Linked DNA regions of Homo sapiens: region 1 is linked to region 2. Evidence: promoter capture Hi-C in human tissues and cell types (Jung and others, 2019). All regions are on one chromosome and are shown on one strand. The core of a region is centred on a gene start or on the middle of the fragment in contact, and the rest is flanking DNA. Distances in the headings are between cores, read along the strand shown. Region 1 overlaps BCHE (butyrylcholinesterase). Region 2 holds the start of BCHE (butyrylcholinesterase).

Region 1 (6,336 bases), core at 2,183-4,682, 40 kb after region 2:
TGGACAGAAGAAACAAAATCCTGTGACTGACTTAGCTGCAATTAGCAAGTCATTCAGAAATCACATTCATCACTGTCATTTCAGAAGAGTCTAGAAGGAATTGCTTGTGCTATATTTAGCATGCATGAGAGCTGTAAAGTCCAGCCTGTTCATCTTTCTCACGTTTCTGTTTGTTTGCAAAAGCTAGAAAGCTGTAGCCAAGAAGGGCAGGAAGGAAGGTTGGCTTTCAATACCCTTCTTCAGTTCAGCTGAGAACTCCTTTCTATGACTCAATAGCCAGTTCCAAATTACCACATTATTAAAAAAATTTGGTTATCCTGCTTATATTTTCTTCATAGATGATATTACTACATAAATTAATATCTATTAATCAATTTATTTATTATTAATCTCCAATCATTAAACTGATGGATCTCAGAGATCAGTGACTTACAGGTTCTGTTTACTGTTATATCCATTGCCCACATTCCTGGCACATGTCAGGCAATAAAATTCAATTATTGACTAACAAACAGCTTCCTGAAAAAAAGTCAGTTCAGTTTCTTTATTGTGGATTTTTAAAAAATCAACAGAAAACTAGCCCTCATATGCCATTTCTCCAGATAAGAGTAATCTCATTTTTTCACAATGAAGAGGTTATCTTTAGTCTTGAGGTCTATATATACAGAGAGAGAGTAGCAGTAGTGAATACATCTGGTGTCAAGTACAATTAAAATTATGTCATAGGGAGAATTTAAATTTATTCTATAGGAAAAGCAGAGAAACCCTGGGTAAAATTTATGGGGATATTTTTGAGCTTAATATTATATTTGGTATTAATAAAGACATATTTCTCTTTGAGAAAAAAAATAAAAATAGCCCTGGGGCCTGGAATTCTAGTAGGGCCTGAATGCAGGTCTATTTTTCCAACTAGATTTAGTAACGAATAAAGTTGTCAGGGATTGGAATGACCTTGTCCAGATTGTGACACATATTCCATTATTAAAAGTGAAAAAACAGAAGTTAGAATAGCTTTGTGCAGATATACTAAAGAGAATAAAACACTGAATGGAAGATTAGACAACATTACTTCAAGATAACTTGAAATTCTTTTAAAGGGCCTAATATTATTTTTGATTCAAAAAAAGTATTCAAGTAACAGAAAAAAAATTTTGGAGGAAAAAATACCCAGAAAATTGTTACCTGAAATAATTTAAGAATAGAAATCTTTGATTATAAAATACTTCTAATTGCACGCTAATAAAGTAGTTCCATGAGAAATAATTGAAGGCTAAATGGGACATTGTAACACTTTCAAATAGTAGAAAATATGGATGGGATATTTTTAACTTACTAATGATCAGTAAAATAATTGGGAAAAAAGAATTGTGGAAAAATATGGCATTTTATATGGTAGGTAGCACACATATCTTTATTGTTACCTCTCTAATATTAATATAGATTTGAAATTATTTTGGTTAAAGGTTTTCACCAATTACTTAAGTATCTGAAATCGATTATTAAAATGAAATAAGATTATTTTGTGTGTATCACCATTTTAATCATTACAAATTCAATGTTCAATGCTCACTTTGAAAAATTCATTAAGCATGATTTAGGCTCGAGTCTGTATATATGTTTATGGTAACAAAACTGACTTACAATGTTTATTTGTTGTGCTGACAGCTTCCTCCATAAACAGTGTCATTGCTGTCTATGCACCTTAATGTGGCACATTTGGTTGTTTCATCTTACTTTCCCTATATACAACATCTTTTATGTAGATATACAAATAAAATTAAATACACATAGATATATTTAAAATTTTAGCTTCACTAAATTCATTACATTACCTAAAATCCCCTCATTGCATATTAGACACTGTGTATATTAATACATAAAATGATACTAGGTTCAACACCTTAAAATTTTTAACCTAAATTCACTGCTAGGCAGGAGTGTAGGTTCATAAAAGGAAGTTAAACTAAAATAACATACAGCTTTTCTAAAGCAGGAAGAATATGTAAGGCAATTATATTCTCATGATTCCAAGTTGAAATCTGTGCCATTTGGAAGGAAACACAACGCTAAATAGAGACAAAATATTTTGAAAATTGGATAGGATTTTTGTAAAGATTTCAAATAAAATAGAAAAAATATTTTAACTTAAAAGTTGAAAAATGATTTATTTATCAAAGTTTTCTAAGTTATCTGTCAGATGATATAGATATGTTTTGAATAAGTACTAAAGAAATAAGGAGATGAGCTAGTCACCCACAGCCACAGATATTATCCTAAAAACTGTATTATTTGTAATTCTATCATTGAGAATGAAATTTGTTTATATTCCATTTGTATCTCTGTATGCAACTATATACTCTAGTTTTTTTTTATTATTTGTTTGTTTGTTTCGTTTTGTTTTAGAAAAACTGCATGAGAAGACTGCTTACTTCTTTTTTTGTTCAGATGGGGAGCTCACTATGTTGCCCAGGCATATCTAGAAACCTAGGGCTCAAGAAATCCTTCTAACTCAGTCCAGCTTCCCAAGTAGCTAGGATTATAAGCACACACCACAACACTCAGCAAAATTGCTTTTTATTAGGAAACAGTAATATCAATTTTTTTAATGTTAATGTTGAGGTACTTAGTTGAAATCATTAAAACACCAGATTTATGTTTTTGACATTGTAGGCTTTGAGATTTGAAAATTCACCTACCTCAGCCATTCAAGTTGTGTGATATTGGACAATCTCAGCTTCCTTATCTATATAATCTGAATAATAAAATTGCCTCTTTCAAAGAATTATAGTGAATGTTAACTGAGTTTTTGCATAAGAAGTGCTCAGTTCAGTGTCTAATAGATACAAAATTTCTAATAAATGTTTTTTAAAGTATATTCTTCTTAAATTTACTCATATACCTCTGAAACAGGTCTCAAACAACCTCAAAATATCTTAGCCAACATCCACACCAGTTGTTTAGAAGAGAAAATACACCTACACACACACACACACAGACACACACTTTGATTTTTCATTTGAAAGGATACGCTGTAGTTTCAAGTGTATGCAGTATAATTCTAATCACTTTAAAGGTTCTTTCTAATACAATTAGTCTAATGGTTTACTTACTCAGGTAAAACCTTTACCAAACAGCCTTTTATCAGACACTGACTCTATGCAAGTCTACAAGAGTCAAAAAAACAGACATGTTGTCTGCTATTACGGAGCCTTAAAGTCTAATGGAGGTGATTAGTCAAATGTTGGGACCTCCAGTGAATAGTGATATAAAGTCAATAACTTTGAATTCAAGAACAATTATTTGATATGCTGAAACTACCCATTAAAGAAAAACATCACAATTAAATTTTTGTATAATTTTCTTGGAGTATTATTTCCCAAGTCTTTTCTAATATTTAAGTATGCATTTAAAATCAAGCTATTTTAAGATTTGTATATGCTACTACAAAACTAAGTTTCCAGGACATTTTCTGGCAGTTCCTAGACTCATCCCTGAAACTGTGGGCTTGCTGCCATCAATTTTATGGCACAGACTAAAGCAAACAGACGTGAATAAGAGCAAAACCGATAGAATTTGGAAGACTCAAAAAAGAAGCCAATTTGTTTCAAGTTTGAGATTATTTTCTTATCTATAATTAATGCAAAGTCTGCCCCCTTATTAAAATAAGTGTTCTAGTGCCATTATTTGAAAGTACATTTGAGCTTTCTACAGATCATTAGGCTGTCACTCCTCTGGGATTCGTATGATCGCATTCAAATGATAACAGTTGCTTTGTTGTCTCTGGAAGATGAAAATGGGTACAAACATAATGCATCTTCACATTTGGAAATTAGGGAAGACATCTGGATGCACTTGCCCAGCTAATGAATAAAGGGAAAAAGGGAAGAATAAAGGAAGGAAGGAAGGAAGAAAGGAGAGACTGGAGGGAGGGAGGGAGGAAGGAAGGAAGGAAGGAAGGGGGGGAGGGAGGGAGGAAGGAGGGAGGAAGGAAGGAAGGAAGGAAGGGAAGGAGGGAAGGAAGGAAGGGAGGGAAGAAAGAAGGAGGGAAGGAGGGAAGGAAGGAAGGGAGGGAAGAACGAAGGAGGGAAGGAAGGAAGGGAGGGAAGAAGGAAGGAGGGAAGGAGGGAAGGAAGGAAGGGAGGGAAAGAAGGAAGGAAGGGAAAGAAAAAGTTTCTGATTTTCTTTAATATGATTTAGTATTCAGCCCAATTCATTTTCTGAAGTTGGAGGAGGCTAAACATTGCCTCGTATCTCCTCTTTAACTTGCCAGCTAATTATGCAAACCTTTATATCCAAACAATGCAGAGGAAAGAAGACAGAATAATCTTCCAGACCATGAAAGCTTTGTTCATCCATCATACCAACAGTGTACTAAAGATCTTAGAGATCTTTTGTGTGGTAACTCTTTGCCCTTTCAGCTGATGAATAACTGAAGATGTGCAATACAAAGAAATTACTAAAAGAGAACTGTGCACTGGAAACCAATTTGTTTTCATGACTCTATCCAACGACTTTAGTGAAGTATTTAGGAGAGTGGGTTAAGTACACAAGCCTCTTTTAAATACTTATTAAGATTAAAATGTTCACATAATATATAAAAGTATGCTTTAAGTGGGCACTTGATTCCCAGTTAGAAATTTAGGATTAAAAAAACACACTACATCTCAGCAACGGTGAAAATACGTGAAGATTTTGATTTGGATTAAAAAGAAAAAATATTTCTTTGTGCTTAAGGCATTTTATACTCCATTTTATTTCTTGAACAGAACAGAGCTTAACAATACTGACTGACAATATGAACAAGGCTCTTCATTAGGATCTAGTAATAAAACAAATGATTAGAGTAAAGGAAGACTTCTGATACCAGAAATCATTCAAGAAGTCTCACCTTATATGCAGGATTCAGTTTTACATTTTTGTGTGTGTTTTTATTTCCCCTTCAAACCAAATGTTTCTTTCTTACTTATGAGGCATCCACTTTGATAACAGATGTCAAGCTATATTATATCATAATTGGTCTTTGCTTATTGCTAGTGATGAAACCTCATCCAATATTTTTGCATGCCTCCATTTACTACAGCTGTTAATTTTTCTTAAAGTTTGAAAATTATGTGCAGCTAGTATGTCTTCTTCCTAGTATTTTTTTAAATGAAGTGTAATTTGTTCCCCTTTATTAGTGCTGGATGAAAATAAGTCTTCTTTTTTATTTCCTAGAAAGTTTAGCACATTGAAATGTTTTGCCTTTGATCAAATTTGTGTAAAGGATCATACAGATTATATATTTCCTGTGGGGTTCTTCTCTTCTCCTCTTCTCCTCTCCTCTCCCTTTCTCTTCCCTTCTTTTTTCTCATAAAAACCTATATCCAAATTCTCTGTGAAGCTGAGGATGTATTCCAATCCACAAGTCAGGAATGATGAAACAGTAAAAGTTTAATAAGCTACTTGGCCATGGACTCTTATAGCACAGTATATTTAGATACAAGAAATCATCCTTAGTTAATTTATGAATTTTTGCAAATTTCTAAGGTATGCTATTATAATCCTGTCCCTCTAGGTACCTTGATTCCTGCCCAAAAATAGCAAACCTTATTATTTAACTAAGAAAAAAACTGAACAAACTATAATGAATCTAGGGAATTGTTCTTCGGTAATTATTTTTCTCATTTCTACCGTTAGCAATAGAAATGTCTGGAGATGGGAGGAAGCAACTAATAAAAGTGAACTAGATTGAGATATTTGCATTAAATATAATCTAAATTGCAAATAATCCTCTTACATTCTCTATGCACAGCTGCATTATTATACAGTTCACATTGCTTTGGTAACTAATTTTTTCTGCCTTTATTACATCTTCCAGAAAACAAAAAGAATACAGTTATAAAGACCTTCCTAACAAACTATAGTAAGTCAAGATGGAGAATATAAGTGGGCCTTGGAAAATCTGAGTTAGATTTTAGTTTGTGAACAGGCTTAAGAGAAAGTCGTCTATATAATGACTCCTCATCAGCAGATGAAGGACATTGAAGTCAAACGTTTTGCTATGTCACGACACTTGAAGAATCAGTGTGAGTTTTCAATGTGAGTTTTAGAAGATTAATATTTACAAGACATTTTTCTTTAACTTAACACATGAGAAAATGTGAGTTTCTTTTTTAATAAAGTGAAAAGTTTTATTTTAGAACTGATACTGAATTGATCCAAGATACATCCAAAGTTCCGAAAGCTATTCACTTAATTCTTACTGCAAAAACCATTTTTTTCAGTGTATATTTTCCTAGGTTTATGATAGGCACTGGACATGAAAAAATAGATAAGACTGATTTTCTCTGAAGCTCA
Region 2 (6,466 bases), core at 617-3,116:
AGTGGACTTGGGTTGGAGAGAAGAATTTTGACATTTGGATTTTTAAAAATCATGTATATTGAACCCATGAACTCTCATGTGGAACATCAGATTTACTATATTTTAAACAGAAATGCCATCACTATAAAAACCATTGCAAATTTGTCAATATACTTCCATTTAAAAAGCCTTTTCCTGCTTTTATTGATTTATTGATTAATTTTTTTTTGAGACAGGATCTCACTCTGTCACCCACGATGAAGTGCAGTGGCACAATCGTGGCTTGCAGCCTCGACCTCCTAGGCTCAGGTGATACTCTTACCTCAGCTACCTCCCAAGTAACTGGGAATGTAGGCTTGCACCACCATGTCTGACCCATTTTCTTGCAGAAATTGAGTTTTGCTATGTTGTCCAGACTTGTCTTGAACTCCCAGACTGAAGCAATCCGCCCACTTAGGCCTCCTAAAATGTTGGGATTACAGTCATGAACCACTGTGCTCCACCTCCTTTTTCTCCTTTTCAGATAGATTATGTATTCTGTACCTTTTGTGTAACTAACTTGTTATTACATAAACTATATTCTAAATACATTATAAATTATTGTGATCATGATATTTATCATTGAATTAACACTGCCTAAGTAGCAATTTTCACAGAAAAGATAATTTTAAAAGACCAAAATGGTTATTCTCTTGGAAGCAGTTGACATAAAATAACAGAATAATACAGATTAAAATTCTGTTTTCCAACAGCTACTAGTGGTAAGAAATATAGTAAGCTTCTGATTTGTAGAAACCTTAGCTTTCTCATCTGATGAGGTGGTTAATAATATTAACTCTCATATTTGCTGAAATAATATAAAATATTTAATATAAATTGTCAATTATAATGACTGGCATAAGGTAGAATTACAACAAATGCTAATTATATTTGCTTGTTTGAAAATTTAACACTCTATTAAAAGGCAAAAAAGTGCTCACCTGCAAATATTAATACATGCCTTCTGTTTAGTCCATAGAAAGCCCACAAGTAAGAGATTCAAAAGTGAAAGCTATCACTTACAGAAGATTAAGAATATATTGCATTGAGAAGATAGGGATTAAGGAGTTTATCAAAGGTTTTTTAAAAAATTATTTTCCTGAACATCATTTCAAGAAAGATAAGCGCCAAAGACATAAATATATTCTCCAGAGCATGTGCACTGCAAGTTGACAAATGTGTCTCTTTTATAGAGTTTGGTGAAGGTTATTCATTTTATTTTTCCTGTCTTGACCAGAAAATTGTGGCTTCTCATCATGTATGACTGCCTGCAGGGTCTTCTGAATAGGAAATTACCAATGCTGAAATTTGTATGACTTAAATAAGTGTTGAAGTGTGGGGGTTGAAAGGAGATACATATCAGAGACATCCATTCAGTTAATAGAACTAAGTTTTTGATTTGCATAGCTTATATCTAGAGCATTGTGTTTCTTATTTTCTATATTACTATCTTCTCTAACTATATAATTAGCACAGATTGAAGCTATAATGGATTTCAATAATAGCACTACTTTAGAATGATGTATACGTCTTTAAATCTTAAGACAAGCATAGGAAATATGTATATTCTTAAAAAAAGGAAAATTTTTTTAAAGTTTAGAGTTAAAAGAAACATGCATTTTCTGTTACATTTCAGATTATTTTAGTTAAAGAATCTTCTATGCTTTTTTTCTTCATTCTTAGAAGACTACCTGCAATTGTAAAGCATGAATCCTGTAATACTTCTGTAAATGAATCACTATTGCATTTATACCATTAGCCTCTGAACAGATTTCAAGTTGCTGCTGCCAACTCTCGCGAGCTTTGTCAGTAACAGTTGATTGTTACATTCAGTAACACTGAATGTCAGTGCAGTCCAATTTACAGGCTGGAGCAGCAGCTGCATCCTGCATTTCCCCGAAGTATTACATGATTTTCACTCCTTGCAAACTTTGCCATCTTTGTTGCAGAGAATCGGGTAAGTTGCTCTGAATTTACACCTTCGTGTAGAGATCCAAGTTACTGTAAAGCTCATTCTGTGGGATGAGAGTGATCTCTTCATGTGTTTGTTGTGTCCCTTTGGTGCTCTGTGGGGAACAGTTACTGAAGCTTGCAAATGGGACAGAGGAAGTGAGCCAGCAGGCACATGCATCAAATCTTCCTATTATTCAGGGAACGCAGACTTTGTTTATTTAACTGCTGAGAAAATAATGAATTTATTCAACTCTGTATAAAGGACCATAGCACGTGTGGAATCACTGTGATATATATTCTTAGTGAGTTTCCTAAGAAAAAACATTTCATACTGGCTTACCCTTAAATGCATTGTTTATTGAATCTCTCTGTAAAAGTAATCTTTGATTAGTCTTCCTTTTTTTTTCTTTTTAAATGGGATAAAGTTAGTAGTTAACTTACTTTTTCCTGAACAAAATACTTTTCTCAATCAACATTTTGTCACCTAAAACTTTAACAGTAACAACTGGCAAATGAGAGGTCTGTTTATTTTATGTAAATAAAAACAAAACCTGTTTTCTAATTTGATTTACAGTGATTTATGAGCGTGTCCCCTTTGCCCTTTGTGTTCACTTTTTATATGTTTGTTTAAATTGTAGCAAAATATTTTACATTTGCTATTATTTTACTATTATAGAAATAGTAAGCAAATGTACTTTCTGCTCATCCTATAATCTTGTAAAACTATTATTTTGATAACATCAGTTCCACTTTAACCAGGGAATTAAATATTAAGGATTATAAAATCTATGAATGACTAAAAGTAAACTGAAATGTGATTTCATTGTTTATGATTTCTATTTATTATATATTTTTATTTTATGAGTATGTCTTCTACATTTTTATGAATATATTTCATGATAATAAACTCAATTAGGAGCTCCTGTCACTAGTCTGTGTAATGCCTTCCTTAATATAAACTATCTCATAGTTACAATAAATACAATGACAGTTTACTTATATAAGTAGTTACTTTGTTTAAGGATAAGCGTGAGCTTTTAAAGTGTGACTTTAACATTTGAATAAAAATCTTCAGAATTTTCTCTGGATATAAAATAAAGTAGTCTTTTGGATGCCAAATAAATTTCTAATTGGGTTATCAAAGTTCTGTTTTGTTCTCCTAATTTTTTGTTGTTGTTGTTTGTTTGTATTGTCCTAGTTTTTTAATTGTAAAAATATGTTTGGGATGTATTCCATATTTCATTTTTATAAAACATAAGCTACTAATAGCTAAACAAGTCACATCTTATCTATAAATTTGGTTCCTTCTTCGAGTCATTTCTTGATAAGTATAATATATATTTACATTGAATATTATCTTCATTTCGATGGTTTCTTGCCAGCATCTGCTCATTCTTACCAAAATTAGACGGTCCCAGATGTTAAGAGAATTGTAATTGAATAGATAGCAACCTAAGAGGAGATTTAATTTTCAGAGAAGACTCAAGAAATCTCTCTAATAAATGTTCAAATTATTCACACAATGAAGTTTGCAAATGTTCTTCCTAATTGAGGACAGATAAAACATCTTAAGTTTCTTATATCTAATGTAGTGTCTTCTATATGTATACATGCCTAAAGCATAGCTGAAGAATCCCTGAAAGACAGTGATGTAGTCTATTTATAATCAGACTTCCTCAATTCCCCACTTCACTTAGTCTGCAACAAAACAAGCTTTTTAAGTTTGATATAAAGACGTCGTTGTTCCAATTTCTTCAAATACATTTAAGAGAGCTTGTTCTAGATCATATTAATATTATCTAGATGGCTCTTTCTCTACCATTTTAAGAGGGTTTATTTCCAAGTAGAAATAAATATTTATTTAATTGTAACTTTTTAAAAGATAGGGAAATTATACACAGGGAAAATATTTTGAATATTTGCTTGAACATCTTTTAAAAATTCTTGGCTTGTCCCTTATTTTGAAAATCTGGTTGATATTCAAGTATCCCAAAAAATAGCTCTTTATACAAATTATTTTATCACACTCACATCTTATAGTATAACATTTAGTATTTTTTGTTAAAATCAGCTAGGGAATATTAATAGTACTTTCAAAATTGAATTAAAAATACAAAAAAAGATTTGTCACCTTTTTTATTTGAAAGTTATTGTTATAACAGTTTAGCATTTTCAAAAATTGCCAGTAAATTTTCTTAATTCCAAACAAAAACTCAGTTCCTCAAAAACTCAAATTCCTCAAAAACTCAATTCCTCAAAAACTAGAATGGTCTGAATTCCAAACAAAAACTCCTGTCTTTATTTCCAATATTAAATACTATTTTGATAAGCAAATTGATCTAAATTCAGATACACAGCTGTATTTGTGAAAATGTGCCCCATTTTTATGATAATGTTTATGCTACTATGTTCTCTCAGAATCATGTGAGACAGTATCCAATTGCACCAGAATTTATTAAAAGAAAAACGATCAAACCTGCACGTTGTGCACATGTACCCTAAAACTTAAAGTATAATAATAATAAAATTAAAAAAAAGAAAAACGATAATGTTTTGTTGAATATCCTAATCATTAATAAAAATTTTGAGATATAGACTCAATATTTTTATTCTATTTTCATTTATTTCTCTTTCGATTGCTCAATTACATGATAAACATATCAAAATTTTTAAAGTCTTTTAATGGCAAAACTACAGAGTAGCATGTTAGAATAGATAATACCAGATTATAAAAAGGGCAAAGTGATGCTTATTTAAAAAATAAAGTACTGCAATTAAATATAAAAACATTAGCCTACAATACACTAACAGTATATGAACATCTGCATATTTTTATATTAAAGTACACATTAAATAATATGTCATATGACACTCTGCAACAATACATATGAGTTAGCATTATATTGTCATTTTTGCAATGAATGCATGCTTACAAGAATTGCTTTGATTGTTACCAATTACATTATTTGCAAGTTGATAACTCAGATATCATTATCGAAAAATTAAAGATTTTAATTCATACCATATTATTATATAACAAGACCTACTCAGCATAAAATATAAATATCAACATATAATAAATTTTGTATTAAATCAAGTTAAGTGACATGGGAAGATATTACAACCATTTAGATGTTATAGCAACTGTTTAACATAAACAATGAAACATCACATTTCATAATTACACAAAACACAAATACAGTTTTGTAGCAACTATAGTACTTGCTTTGCAATAATATAAACTGTTTGTAGAACAAGTTTGAAAACTATCAGAGACCAAAATTTATTTCAATTTGGTGTTTGGTTTCTAAAGACAAACTAATATTCAAATAAAATCAAGGAAAAAATAGATGGCTTTTGCATTAGACTTAGAAGAACATTGACTGAGCTAGGCAAGAGGGAGAATGGGTACAACCAGGGATGATGCAATTAATTTATTAAATTGCAGCTTAGAACGAACCGCCCAATCAGCTTTGCACCTTATTCACTTTTTCTTCCCAGAGGATGTTTTCAAAACAGAAAATAAAAAAAATCATACTAGCACTTTGTTTTTCTCCAGATGCTCTCCTGCATTTATTAAAGAGAAAAGGATTAGCGGTTATCAGAAAGAAAAAAGAACTGAAGCAGTAGAGTGCCTCTAAAACTTTGATTATGTCTGAAATGTTATTAGTGTCAGGTAACAGGAAACTTTAAGTCATTGTTATATTTTACTTATTTATTTACTGTGATTTATGATACAGTCATACAATACATAATGATGCTTCAATCAATAATGGTGGTCTTATACAATTATAATATAGTATTTTCACTGTACCTTTTCTCTGTTTACATACACATACAGTTACCATTTTCTAACAATTGCCTACAGTATTCAGGAACATGTTATACAGATTTGTAGCCTAGATGCAACAGCCTATACCATATAGCCTAAAGGTGTGGTAGGCTATGGCATCTAAGTTTGCGTGAGTACACTTATAATGTGTGCACAATGATTAGATCGCCTAACAATGCATTTCTTAGAATGTATCCCTGTCAATAAATGGCATATGACAAGGATACATTATATAATAGTACCTAAATTATATATAATAGTACCTAAATATCATGAATGTAGAAATGCTGCTAAAAATATATTTTAATTATGTTTTATTGATCTTAGCACACATCTAATTGTACCAAACAGAACTGAAAAAATAATAATCTTGTGGCTTGATTTTTTTAAAACCTTATTATTATAGCAGTCATTTTATATGTAAATATATATGCATATACATATGAATATTGTTAGAATTAGATATAGAAATAGATATATCCATTAAGTATCAAGCCCTGAACCAAATGCTCCAGACCATGGATTAATAAATTGAGATATTTATTGGGATAAAAAATACTTGTAGGTCACTAGATATCCTATGACCATTGGTGAATTAGGCTGATTTGAAATATGATACCCTACGTCTGGGACATAGGCATTAGAATAGTTATTTATTCTCTT

Evidence for each region. The method cuts DNA at HindIII sites, captures the fragments that hold promoters and counts their contacts. A contact is called where the count stands out against the background at its distance.
Region 1: a contact is called between a fragment that was not itself captured here and the fragment with the promoter of BCHE in region 2, in 2 of the 25 tissues and cell types used here (bladder and hippocampus).

The regions. Positions count from the first base shown.
Region 1 is chr3:165,794,930-165,801,265 of GRCh38, reverse strand. All of the region lies in intron 2 of BCHE (butyrylcholinesterase), which reads left to right. Among named protein-coding and RNA genes, the nearest start is that of BCHE, 39 kb to the left of the region's middle. The HindIII fragment of the contact is 6,653 bases long and covers 106-6,336 here.
Region 2 is chr3:165,832,823-165,839,288 of GRCh38, reverse strand. BCHE (butyrylcholinesterase) reads left to right here and starts at 1,866. Exons shown (of 4, transcript NM_000055.4): 1 at 1,866-1,975. RefSeq lists an enhancer at 1,754-2,048. The HindIII fragment of the contact is 2,864 bases long and covers 32-2,895 here.